Linked DNA regions of Homo sapiens: region 1 is linked to region 2. Evidence: promoter capture Hi-C in 16 types of primary human blood cells and fetal thymus (Javierre and others, 2016). All regions are on one chromosome and are shown on one strand. The core of a region is centred on a gene start or on the middle of the fragment in contact, and the rest is flanking DNA. Distances in the headings are between cores, read along the strand shown.

Region 1 (6,223 bases), core at 726-3,225, 740 kb after region 2:
CCACGGCGACGGGGAGAGCAGGATGCTATTAAATGGGAAAGCAGATAAGGACCAAGATGATATAATACTTTGGCTTTATCTTTAACATCCTATTTTTTTTTTTTTTTTTTTTTTGAGATGGAGTCTTGCTCTGTCGCCCAGGCTGGAGCTGCAGTGGCATGATCTTGGCTCACTGCAAGCTCTGCCTCCCGGGTTCACGTCATTCTCCTGCCTCAGCCTCCCAAGTAGCTGGGACTACAGGCGCCCACCACCATGCCTGGCTAATTTTTTGTATTTTTTAGTAGAGACAGGGTTTCACCATGTTATTCAGGATGGGCTCGATCTCCTGACCTCGTGATCTGCCCGCCTCGGCCTCCCAAAGTGCTGGGATTACAGGCGTAAGCCACAGCGCCCGGGCAACATCCTAATTTTTTAAACAGAACTGCTTCCACCTTACTTAAGTAGCTTTTAAAGTATATTCATAAAGACAAGAAGCAAACACACCTAAAAGTTAATTAGTGGTTAATTATAAGTGGTAGTAATATGGATGACATTTTCTTCTTTTGCATATTTTTTAAATTTTCAAAAACAAAAAAGTACTGAACAGAATATATAGCATAATCCCATTTCTATAGTTTTGTTGTTATTGTTTTGTTTTTTAGGGAAGAGGGGAGAGGATATATGAAATTGTAGATGTTTAAGTTTTTTTCTGGAGGAATTTACCTCCCCTGCAAAAAAAAGGTAGCAGTGTTGACTACTGGGGAATAGGTACTAGAGAGAGGCGTGTATTTTTTTTTCTTTCTGTTTTATATCTCTATGTATTGTTTGAACCTTTACCATCTGAATGAAATTTTTTAAAAAAAATTAAGTAAAAGGGTTTGGGTTCTGAGGTGCAGTATGATTCAGGTCTTATATTTGAACCCCTGGCCTGAGACAGTGACAGAGATGTGCCCCAAATGTAGGCCAACCTTCCTGCTAGAGGCAGGAGAGCACAGATGAGAAATTTCACACTGGCCACAGGAGGAAGAGAGGCCTTGCATAACTCTAGGTCAGAGGCCACACTTGACCAGGCCTGGCATCTTCCCAGAGGATGTAACCCTAAGAATTGATAAGGAGCGAGCAGAGGCCCCAAAGCCCCAAACCACTGCTGCAAGCCACTTCTGACTTATATGGACATGAACACTGCACACAGCAGTGATGTCAACCACACAGGAGTCTTGGGTAGGAAACTGAAAGATGGGGACAGAGATATTTCTTCTGTTTCTTCCAGCAAATGGCACTGAAAGAGAAAGAGGAATTTTCATTTCAACCGCATCAATTATGTACCAGGTGCACTTTATATATAGCAAATATTGCTATATTTAAGCTTCCTAGCAGCCCTACAGAACAGGATCCATTGCTGACTCCATCGTACAGGTGCGGCAACCAAGGCCCAAGGAAGTATTAATAATTTGCCCAAGGCCACATGGCTAGTAGGTAATAAAGCCAGGACTCAGACCCAATTCAGATCTAACCTTTTATTCACAGCAAAGGAGGCTTTGACAAATAAACCCTGAGCTGGTAATATTAGTTTACCGCTGGCCTCTCTCGTCCCCTCCTAAGTGACTCGTCTTTGCTCTGTTCACAGGCCTGCCCTATTCGCATCAGGCCTGGGGCCAGAGCCCAGTAGAGAAGAGTCACAATAAACACTTACCAATTAAATGGGCAGACTGTACACCAGAACAAGATACAAGGCATCTTTCCCTAGGAGACCAGGCAGACAGTGGTAGGAAGGAAACACCCTAAATGTTCCAAGTTGGCTTTAAGCTAAAATCCAAGTGGCAAGAAGAGAAAGATCATGTTCTTAGTAGTATCTAGGTATCTAGTATCTACTTTAAAAAATCCACAGAGATGGACAAACTAGCAAGAGAAAGTAAGACGGAAGGAGGTCAGGAACACTGCGCCTCTGGCCTAAGCAGCCCCCATGCATACGACCCTGTGCGGCTGCCAAAGCAAATCTAAAATTTTACTTTGAAGCGACAAAAGCAATCTCACCTTCATCACCCCAGCTGAGCAGAATGAGACTCACAGCAACGTATACCTGAGTCCACAGATCTCACAGGGGGTGGAGGAGAGTTGACAGAGAATGTGGAGGAAGAGAAGGATCCTACAAATCAAGAGGGCGGCCCACACACACACATCCCCCACCCAGTACACAATTCCACACGCCTAAGACTGGAGACAACTGGGTGAGGAGAGAAGGAAAAAGAACCGGAAGATAGATGATTGTTATGGTGACACACAGCAGACTACATGGCCAGGGAGAAGACAGGAACCACTCTTTCCTACACAGTGAGAGAAATGGCCCAGACACAAGAGTGAGTTCAAGCCACCAACACAAACACAAGGTCACTGTGAGAGAGAAGTCGAGGTCATGCCTTCTGCTACGAGCAGGGCACCTGATAAATAAATTCTCACTCTACATTACCTCTCACACAGCTGAAGATACAAGGAAGGGAACTATTACCCTGAACTTACTTCTGGCCAGGAAGAAAAACCTAGTAAATTATGTTTAAAAAAAAAAAAAATACTTCAGCTAGCAAAAACAATAATAACAAGAACACCACATTGGGAGGAAGTAAGCTTGTCAATTCAGAGTTCAAAGGAGGGAAATTAAAAAAAAAAAAACTGAGACAAAAACAGTTGTTTAGCCTAGACTTCAAAAAAACCAATATTCAGGTCAGGCGCAGTGGATCACACTGAAATCCCAGCACTTTGGGAGGCTGAGGCAGGAGGATGGCTTGATGACTAAGAGGATACAAAAAGGAGAAGGAGGAGTTCAAGACCAGCCTGGGCAACACAGGGAGACCCCGTCTCTATGAATAATTTAAAAAATTAGCAGGGCATGGTGGCACTAGCCTGTGGCCCCAGCTACTCAGGAGGCTGAGGCAGGAAGATCACTGAGCCCAGGAGGTCAAGGCTGCAGTGAGCCAATGATCGTACCACTGCACTTCAGCCTGGGCAACAGAGTGAGACCCTATCTCAAAAAAAAAAAAAAAGAAAGAAAGAAAAAGAAAAAAAAAACCAATATTTAGATGTTGAGACCAAGGAGTATGATGGGCAGAGATCCCAAAAGGGAATGCATTTTGAAAGACAAGGTCCAAGTCTCTAAAAAGTGAATTCTGATCATCTAAAACACAATAATCGCTTAAAGAAGAAACCAGGAGGAGGCAGCCACAAATGTCAGGGAGAAGTGAAGAGCTGAGACAGTAAAGGATGTGTGCAAAGACACGAGCAACTGCCCATGAGCCAGGACAGGCCCGAAGGGAGTAGTCTGCGCTCACTAAACACAACAAGCAGAGCTTGTGAAAATGCTAGGAGCATGTCTTCAAGCTACATCCAAAGCCATAAGAAGAACCAGGGAGGAAGTGGCCCTGGGATGGGGACAGAGACTCTAACACACAAAATGACAGAGAATGGAGAATTTTCATCTCCAGTATTTCCCATCTTTTCTATGAAGGAGAATGCTCCACAGACTAGAACAAGCTAAACATTTACACACATGCTCTCTCTCAAGAGAAGCCTCAATTCTAAGCTAGACCATAAACCAACTTACAATCACCCAGAATTACATCCCAGGATGCAGAAGGAAAGTACAGGTTGATTCCAGAACCACTGCTGGCAGTGGTTCAGGAGCTGAGGGGAGAGGAGGTGGCAAAGATCTGCTTTCTGGCAGCACACATTCTCTCGAAACCTGGTACCCACAATGCTCCAGGCACTAGACCAAGCTCACAGGGCTTCAAGGTTCACAGTCTAGCCAAGAGGGAAAAAGAAGCAATATGTAAACAAAACTGTTAATAAACTATGATGACTAAGAGGATATAAAAAACTGGGGGGTTGGGACTTCTTTTTTTTTTTTTTTTTGTGACCGAGTTTCACTCTGCTACCCAGGCTGGAGTGCAATGGTGTGATCTCAGCTCACTGCAACCTCCACCTCCCAGATTCAAGCAATTCTCCCACCTCAGCCTCCCGAGTGGCTGGGATTATAGGCTCCCACCACCACACCCAACTAATTTTTTTTTTTTTAAGTAGAGACAGGGTTTCACCATGCTGGCCAGGCTTAGTTTCGAACTCCTGACCTCAGGTGATCCGCCTGCCTCAGCCTCTCAAAATGCTGGGATTACCAGCATGAGCCACTGCGTCCAGCCGGCACTTTTGTTTGTTTAAAGGGAAGGGGACAAATAGGATAAACTCCTCAACATCTGCCTCTGGAAAAGCTCTAGAACAAATCATAATCTGAACCATCACAAGCTACCCTGGGTCGCTTAAGAGGCCACAGCAAGCTAGTCTCGTTTCCTTTTTAGCAGAGTTTACTGAATTATAGACCAAAGGAATGCCAGACGCAAGGGGTCTGGACCTCTATGAAGTATATGAACACAGTCTCCTGCCCAGACCTTAGGGATGACAAAGGAGGAGGCAGTGAGATGACAAAGCATTTAGATAATATTTGCAGTTGTTATAAATGGCCAGTAATAAAGTGCTGTTTGGTGGATCTAGGACAGGCTGCTGAACAGGCACCAAACTGAACTCACGGCCCCTTTGAATTTGCTCCCGGATCTCAGTAAACGGCAATGACATCACTATCTAGCCAGGCTCCCAGATATAAATCTTGAGTACTCATCCTCAGACTCTCTCCCTCCGTCACCCACAGAAGCAATCCAATTTTGTCTCTGGGAAGATCTCCCAAATCCATCTTTCCTTTTCCAGTCCTGCTATCGCTTACTGGGTTGCAGCCCCTTTTCTCTTGTGTGCTTTCTCTTTTTGAGACAGGGTCTCATTCTGTCCCCCAGGCTGGAGTGCAGTGGCATGATTTCAGCTCACTGCAAACTCCGCCTCTTGGGTTCAAGCAATTCTCCCACCTCAAGCACCTGACTAGCTGGGACTACAGACATACACCACCACGCCTGGCTAACTTTTTATTTTTTGGTAGAAACGGGGTTTCACATGTTGGCCAGGCTGGTCTCAATCTCCTGACCTCAAGTGATCTGTCCACCTCGGCCTCCGAAAGTACTAGGATTACAGGCATGAGCCACCATGCCTGGCCTACTCTTCTGTGTTTTCTAACTGGTTTCTAGAAGGGAGACGTACTCCATCCCAGTACATCTTGGGTCACATGCTGAAAGGCAAAGCTGAGCAGGACATTTTCCTCCTTAAACATCTCCACTGGCTGACATGATAAAATCCAAATTCCCTAACTTAGTCTTCCCTAGCTCCTATCCACATCATCGCTACCCTAACCTCCCAACACATCCCCTATATTGAAGCTACAATGCACTTCCTGACCTCAGGCAAGCCAGGCCTTGTCATGACTTCACGTCTGTAAGAACCATGGCAATGTCACCTCCTCTGTGAAGCCTCTCTGACCACTTCCAGGCAGAGTCAGCCCCTCTGCCTCTCTGTGCCCACAGACTCTTGCTAAACTCCTACTTCAGCACTCACCAGTGGGATTTATAAAACGGTTTCTCTTTTCACTGTGGACCATGTACCTCTTGGAAGCTGGGACAATGTCTTGTTCATCTTTTGATTTCAAATCCTAGACCCGGTACATGGCATTTAGGAGGTGTTCAATAAGTATCTACTTGTTGACTAAACCCAAAGAACAACTTCAGTGGCAAACCTATTAGTGTGTGTGTGTGTGTGTGTGTGTGTGTGTGTGTGTGTGTGTGATGGAGTCTCATTCTGTCGCCCAGGCTGGAATGCAGTGGCACGATCTCAGCTCACTGAAATCTCCACCTCCCGGGTCCAAGAGATTCTCGTGCCTCAGCCTCCTGAGTAGCTGGGACTACAGGCGCCCACCACCACACTCAGCAAATTTTTATATTTTTAGTACAGATGGGGTTTCACCACATTGGCCAGGCTGGTCTCAAACTCCTGACCTCAAGTCATTCACCCACCTCGGCCTCCCAAAATACTGGGATTACAGCAGGCATGAGCCACCACACCAGACTGGCTTTGCCTAGTATTAATATTTTACCAACAAGCTGACTAAAGACATAGTAGGCAGTAAGCTTATCAAACTTCCAAGTGACACCCCCTAAGAAAACAATGGGAGAGGCAGTCTGTGCTAGGTAGTAGATTTTTAAAAGATTACAGTAGGAGAAAATATACGCCAAAACTAACAACAACAACAACAAAAAAACCCATCTTCAACAGCACAGGATGAAAGAGACTTTTCTCTAGTCACATCTTTATAACATGAATGAGA
Region 2 (6,476 bases), core at 1,843-4,342:
GGTGGGGATGATCATACAGAAAGAGGTACATTGATGATGCAAGGTAGGAGATATCTGCAGAAGTAAAGTCCTTGCAAAGGCAAGAGGGTATGGAACATGATCATGAATACAGGAAAAGGAGCTGAATTTGTCAGCAGAATGGATACTTCTTTCATTGTTATAGGAGGAAACATACCAAGATTTCAATTCATATTTATTGAATTCCAAATTACAGGCTATTGATAGGAACTCAAATCAGGAAATAAGGCAGATTAAGGTCTTGCACTCATGGAACTTGTATTCCAGTGAGGGAACAAACAACAAACAGGTACATAAATAAGGAAGAAGGTTTTAGATGGTGATAGGTGGTCTGTAGAAAATAGAACACAGTTTTGTATTGGAGAGTACCCTGGAATATGGATACTTCAGACAAGAGTCAGAGAAGCACAACAGAGGGCTGAGCCTTGAATGTCAAGGAGACAGGCAAAGAATAATTTGTAGGAAGAGCATTTCAAAAGAGAGAATACCTAGTGCAATTGTGCTCAAAGAATAAAGAGAAGGCCAGTGTGGCTGGGGCAGAGAGAGTGAGTGGGGTACAGAGAATTTCAGGGAGAGGCAGAAGGCCTCAGACTGGAGAATAAGGGGTATGGGTTTTATTCTAATGTGACGGGAAGGCCTCAGCAGGTTTTCTGCAGTGGAGAACAAAATCTGATTCTAGATGGAGGTAAGTTTGTAAGTTGGTAGGTTTGTAGCCGATTAGAAAATGGGAGCATTCTTGTTTCATGGTTTTGTTTTCTCAGCATAGGATAAAGTTAGGTGGCCACTGAAGGCTTGAGTAAAATCTAGAAGTGTAGGAAATTTGAAACTGTTTATGCAAATAGACAAAAGGAAAAATAGGAAAACACTAAAAAGGAAATTTGCTTCCATTGACTTTGCTTATAGCAGTGTGCCCTATAGATACTTGTTGCAGAATCTTCTAGAGTGATTGTTAAACCTCAGCTTTCCTGTGCTAACTCCAAACCTATGAACCTCTGGAGGGGGAGGTGGAACCAGGAACCTACATTTTATAAAGGTACTTTAGTATTTTATTAAGCACACTCAAGTGCAGGAACTGGCCAAGAGATGATGTGTGGAGAGCATGCAGTAGCAGTAAAAGTTAGCAGTGGAGAGTGGGCAAAGCATGAGCCATGGGAGACAGGTGGGGAAGACCATGAGCAGCGCATACAAGACAGGCAGCTGGAGAAATCAGGGGGTGTGAGCTTCGGTGAGATCCCATTCCAAAGGGCTAGAAAGGCTGAAGACACCAGATTTTCTTCCACTGGAGGCCTTTTAGATTTTTGAACAATGGAGTGAAATAATGAAAATATATATATTTCTTAATTTTTTGTTTTCATAATTGGAAAGTGACCTATAGGTCACTCTTTAACCTTTCCAATCATAAGAACCAAAATCTCTTAAAAGAGATGAGGTTGTTACACAGGTAATTATAATGCTTAGGATGGGAATACTGGTACAAAAATGAGAAATGGACAAACAACAGAAGCACAGTAGCTTGAATGGCTGATAGGTAGACCTGGTATTTCATGGGGCTCCAGTTAAGTGACCTACATGATGCTGCTGCTGTGGCCCTGAATTGGCAGGACTGGTGAAGAATTTGATTTTCAGTTGATAATATCCTCTTTGAAATTTAGAAATAGGTGAGAAGTCAGGGACGTACTCTGCTCTTAGAAAAAGTGTGAATATACATTTGTTCAAAGGGAGTTAATATGCAGAAAAAGAAAAGAGATGAAGATAATGGTCTGGAGAAAGGTTTAAGGGTCAGGAGACAGTAAAATGTCAGGAAAGCAAAAAGTTGTAATAAACTAATATGTGCTGTATTCCAGACACCTCAATAAGCTGGATGTCCATAGAAACAATTGGACACCCAGCTTGTTAGCTTAAATGCTGGCTCCATAAAATCAAGTCTGTACAGGAGGCTTATTACTGATATTTAGTAGTAACGACTAACATCCAACTTTCTTTGCTTAGTTTCATCTGTGCTCAGGGCAGCTCAGTGAGGTGGAAGGCCAGTTAATCACTAGTTTCATTTTACAGATGAAGAAACTGAAGATCAGGGAGCTAAATGACTTGCCAAAAGTCACCCAGTTATTGAGGTCTGCACACAGTAAACGTCTTATAAACTAGGAATGCACGGTACCGTGGAGATAATTAGAAACTTAGACCCATCCTGTAGCCAAGAGACGCTAATCTTAATTATAATCTTTCTTTAAAATCAAGCCAATCTGGAGGAAAAAAAGATATAATAAACGGTGAATGAGACCTTTGCGGACGTCCACACCATTACAGTAGGTTAATAACAAGAAGAAAACAATAGTTTTAATCCATGTCTCAAAAATAACTACGGATGGTTAATGTTTAGGATCTCTACCAATATCACATTAGAGTTCAGAAAATCTGAGACCCATGCTTGGGAACCAGGTCTTACTCTTATTTAGGGAAGGGAGCCGAGGTTCTGCCGCTTTTGCTGGGCAAGAGCGCGGTTCGGGTGTACAGAAACAGCCTCACGTGGCTAGCTGGTGCCTCATGCAGTGGGTAGGTTTCCCGTGGCGAGCGGTAGCGCTGACCGCCGGCCAGAGAGCGATGAGCACCTGCAGAATCCTGGGGGCGGGGAGCCCGGCAGGAGACCGCGAGCACCCGCACGCCGCCAGCCACACCGGGCCGACCAGACAGCGCCCCTCTGTGGCGCAGCCTCCAATTCTGGAGGTCCCAGCTCCCGGAGGGGCCAGTGGGGACAATCAGGACCAGGCGGTTTATTGCAGTGGTCCCTCAAAGCTAGCGGGAGGCGGACACGCGTCGAGCACTGCCCCCACCGTCTCGCTTTTGGCCCCCTGCTTTGCATCGCGGCACAGAAACTTTCCCTGCCCGGGACGCGTCCCCACCTCCGTGCTCCCCCTCCCAGCTCACCGAGGACCCCCGGTGCGACGAGAGCCAAGAAAACCCCGAGCAGGCCCGCGGCGCCCATGCCACGGCCGAAGCCCCCGCGGCGGGATGCGTTCCGAGACCCGCGAGCGTCCGGCAGCTCTGGGAGGGCAAGGCTGGAGCAGCAAGCAGCTGTGAGCCAGGAGAGGCGGGCCCTTAAATAGTGTCCGGCACACGTGCTAGTTCTGAGCGCACACCTGCAGGCGGCCTGGGGGCTGACGCGGCGCCGGTGAGGGTGGGACAAGCGGGAGGGACGGCCCGGCACGAGGTGGGCGGGGAGCTCTGAGCCACTCTTTGGCTCAGACTCACCCCTCGTTGCGGTGGCTTCCCCACTTTTTTGACCACGCAACCCACTACACTCACTTGTTTCTCTTACTAGAACTTAAACAAAACTTTCACAAGTTAGTACTCACCCTTAGTAATCTACAATGTTCGTCCTCTGTGCCATGCTGTGTTATGCTAGACTAGGCTAGGCTATCCTATTCTTATTAGAAATCCACCAAACTCATTTCAAAACCTATTAGTGGATTCATCTCCCAGTTTGAAAAAGCAGTGTAAGTTTACTTAGGGAATTTAGGAACAGCAGCCACTTCTGCTCTGTTCTTTATTTTGAAGTAATCTCTACAGAAAAGTTTCAAGAGTACTGCAGAGAATTCCCATATACTTGTCACCCAGATTCTCTGCATGTTAACATTTTGCTGTATTTTCTTTACCATTCTCTATTCTTTCTCTATAGACATATATGTACATATATGTGATTATATAATTATAATTATATAATTATTACTTTGGAACCATCTAGCATTTATTCCTATTCTAAATGGTTCACTAAGGACTTTCTGTTCCATAACTAGAGTGCAATGATCAAAAATAAGAACTTAACATTGACACAAGACTATAAGCTACCATCTGTATTTAAATTTTGACAATCATCTCAATAACCTGTGTTATGGTAAAAACAATAACAACAATAGAAACCAACCTTTGTTTTTCCTGGTCCAGAATCATTTCAGGATCATGTATTGTGTTTGATCATTATGCCTTCCCCCCACCCCCAGTTCTTTATTCTGGAAAAATGTCCTCAGCATTTTTGGTATTGCATGACCTTTACATTTTTGACGAATACACCACAATTATTTTTGGAGAATGACTTTTAAGTCCGTTATCTATTATAATAACAAATTACCCTGAAGGTAGTGGTGTAAAGCAAGAATAAACATTTATGATCTCACAGTTTCTGTGGGTCGGTCAGGTGGTTCTGGCTTGGGATCGCTCAGGAGATTGCAGTTAAGACACCAGCTGGAGGTGCAGTCATCTGAAGGGTTAACTGGGATAGGCGAATCCACATCTAAGATGGCTCACTTACCAGCCTTTGGCTGGAAGCTTCATTCTTCACCACGTGGATTTTGCCATAGGGCTCGCTGCTTGTGTGTTGAGTGTCCTCGTGACATGCCAGCTAGCGTCTCTGAGAACAAGAAAGAAGAAGCCATAATGTCCTTTGTGACCTGTCCTCAGAAATCACAATATGTTAACTCCAGAATATCCAATTGATTGTACAGATCAGCCCTTTTCAGTGTAGGAGGGCAGTATACGTGGATGGTAATGTCAGGAGACAGGATCACACCCCACAATTTGGATTTGTCTATCATTTCTTCATGATAGATTCAGGTTATTGAATCTAATTATTTGACAGGAATACCAGAAAGGATGTCTTATCCTTACGGGGAGGCATATGTTGTCTATTTGTCCTATTACTGGTGGTGGTAACTTTGATCACTTAGTTAAGATGGTGCCTGCCATGTTTCTTAGTGTAGACTCAGTATTTTTCCCTTTGTAATTAATAAGTATTTTATAGGGAGATACTTTAAAACTATGTAAATTCCTCATTTTTTCATCAAATTTTTACCCACAAATTTTAGCGTCTATTGATGATCCTTTCTTGAATCAATTTTTACTATGATGGTTGTCAAAGGGTGTTTTTTCCTAATTTAATAATTACTTCTATATTCATCTGTTGGCATTTTACTGTAAATAAAAGTTTTCCCTTCTCTATTTATTTATTCATTTATCTATATCAGCATAAACTATATCAATATGAATTTTATTTATTTACTCAATGGGTCATAATTCATGGCTACCATTATTTATTTTGATGCTTAAATTCTCCCTGATCGGGCCAGTGGGAGCCCTCAAAATAGTTCCTATGTCATTTTGACTTGTTCTTATTGTTCTTTGAGCACTTCCTTACTTTCTGGCACACACACAAAAAAAAATGCTCCAGACTCACCTCTAGACCTGACACTGGAATTTGCTGTTTCTCCAAGGAATGCTGGTTCTTTCTGGCAGAGAATGGCATTTAGATGCCAGAATTGGATGCTAAGTGTGTTCATTTTTATTGGAGTATCATTGTTTCCGCACCCTCTCAGCAGACAGAGCAAGGATATGTATTATATATATATATGTATATCCATTCCCATATCTATATTTATATATGTCATGAATTCACAGTGATTCTTCCAATTTCAGTCCGTTAGCATAGAGTTCATTCTGTCCTTCCCTCTTTCTGCATGTGTAACTCCCTTCTTCAACAGTGAGACACCTAGATCCACAATATATTTACTTATTTGCTTAATCCTAGAATACACAGAAAGAAGTTTAAAATTGCTATTTCTATACTATGATGGAAATCAAATCTACTCGTTTTTAAAGTTTTATTTTGTTTATAGCCCGAAAATATAAAAACAGCATTGTTGTGTTCCAAAGTTACTCAGATTATTCCCCCTCTTCAGTGTGATTGTTATTCATTCAAAATACTGTTAATTTGTTTCTCTTTGTATTCTATTTTAGTTTCCCCTCAATCTTTTTGATTTTTTTTTGCTTAAATAAAACATTAACGTAGTCCCAAATGTCAGATTGATATAAAAAGACACAATAAAAGGGAAATGTCACTTCTCTCCATCACCTCTATCCTCTCCACCATAGGTACTCAATTTCAGTAGTTTCTGGTTTGTCCTTAGTTTTGCTCAAATGAGCTGCTACACATTTGTCTTCTTAGTTCTCCTTTTTTATTACATTTTAAAAGCATGCTATAGGTATTCTTTTGCACATTTCTTTTTTAACTTAACAAATATGCTGGAATCCACTATTTCCTACAAATTCAAATATTCCTCATTCATTTTTACAGTTGCATGCAATACTTCACTGTGTGGATATGCCATAGTTTATTCAACCATCTCCCTATGTATGGACAGTTTGGTTGTTTTTAATGCTCTAAAGAGTAACTTTGTGAATATTTATTTTTCTGCTGTTAGAAGCATGTCTTCAGTTCAAATTCCTAGAAGTGGGATTGCTGGGTCAAATGGTAAACACATATGTAGGTTTGTTAGATATTGCCAAATTTCCTTAATAAGAGTTGTACCACATATATTCCTACAAAACTGTGTGAGAGCACCTCATTAATCTAATGTGCTGTCATCATGGTTTTAAATTTTAGTCAGTCTAATAAATGAGACATTTTA

The links. The method cuts DNA at HindIII sites, captures the fragments that hold promoters and counts their contacts. A CHiCAGO score of 5 or more calls a contact.
Region 1: a fragment that was not itself captured here is called in contact with the fragment with the promoter of CR2 in region 2 in 1 of 17 cell types (fetal thymus); the score reaches 5.6 in fetal thymus.

The regions. Positions count from the first base shown.
Region 1 is chr1:206,712,424-206,718,646 of GRCh38, reverse strand. The region is part of intron 1 of MAPKAPK2 (MAPK activated protein kinase 2); the gene reads right to left. Among named protein-coding and RNA genes, the nearest start is that of MAPKAPK2, 31 kb to the right of the region's middle. The HindIII fragment of the contact is 1,256 bases long and covers 1,348-2,603 here.
Region 2 is chr1:207,450,944-207,457,419 of GRCh38, reverse strand. It overlaps CR2 (complement C3d receptor 2), which reads right to left and starts at 3,092. Exons shown (of 20, transcript NM_001006658.3): 1 at 2,944-3,092. The coding sequence starts at 3,001. RefSeq lists silencers at 2,534-2,643, 3,024-3,253. The HindIII fragment of the contact is 5,194 bases long and covers 1-4,343 here.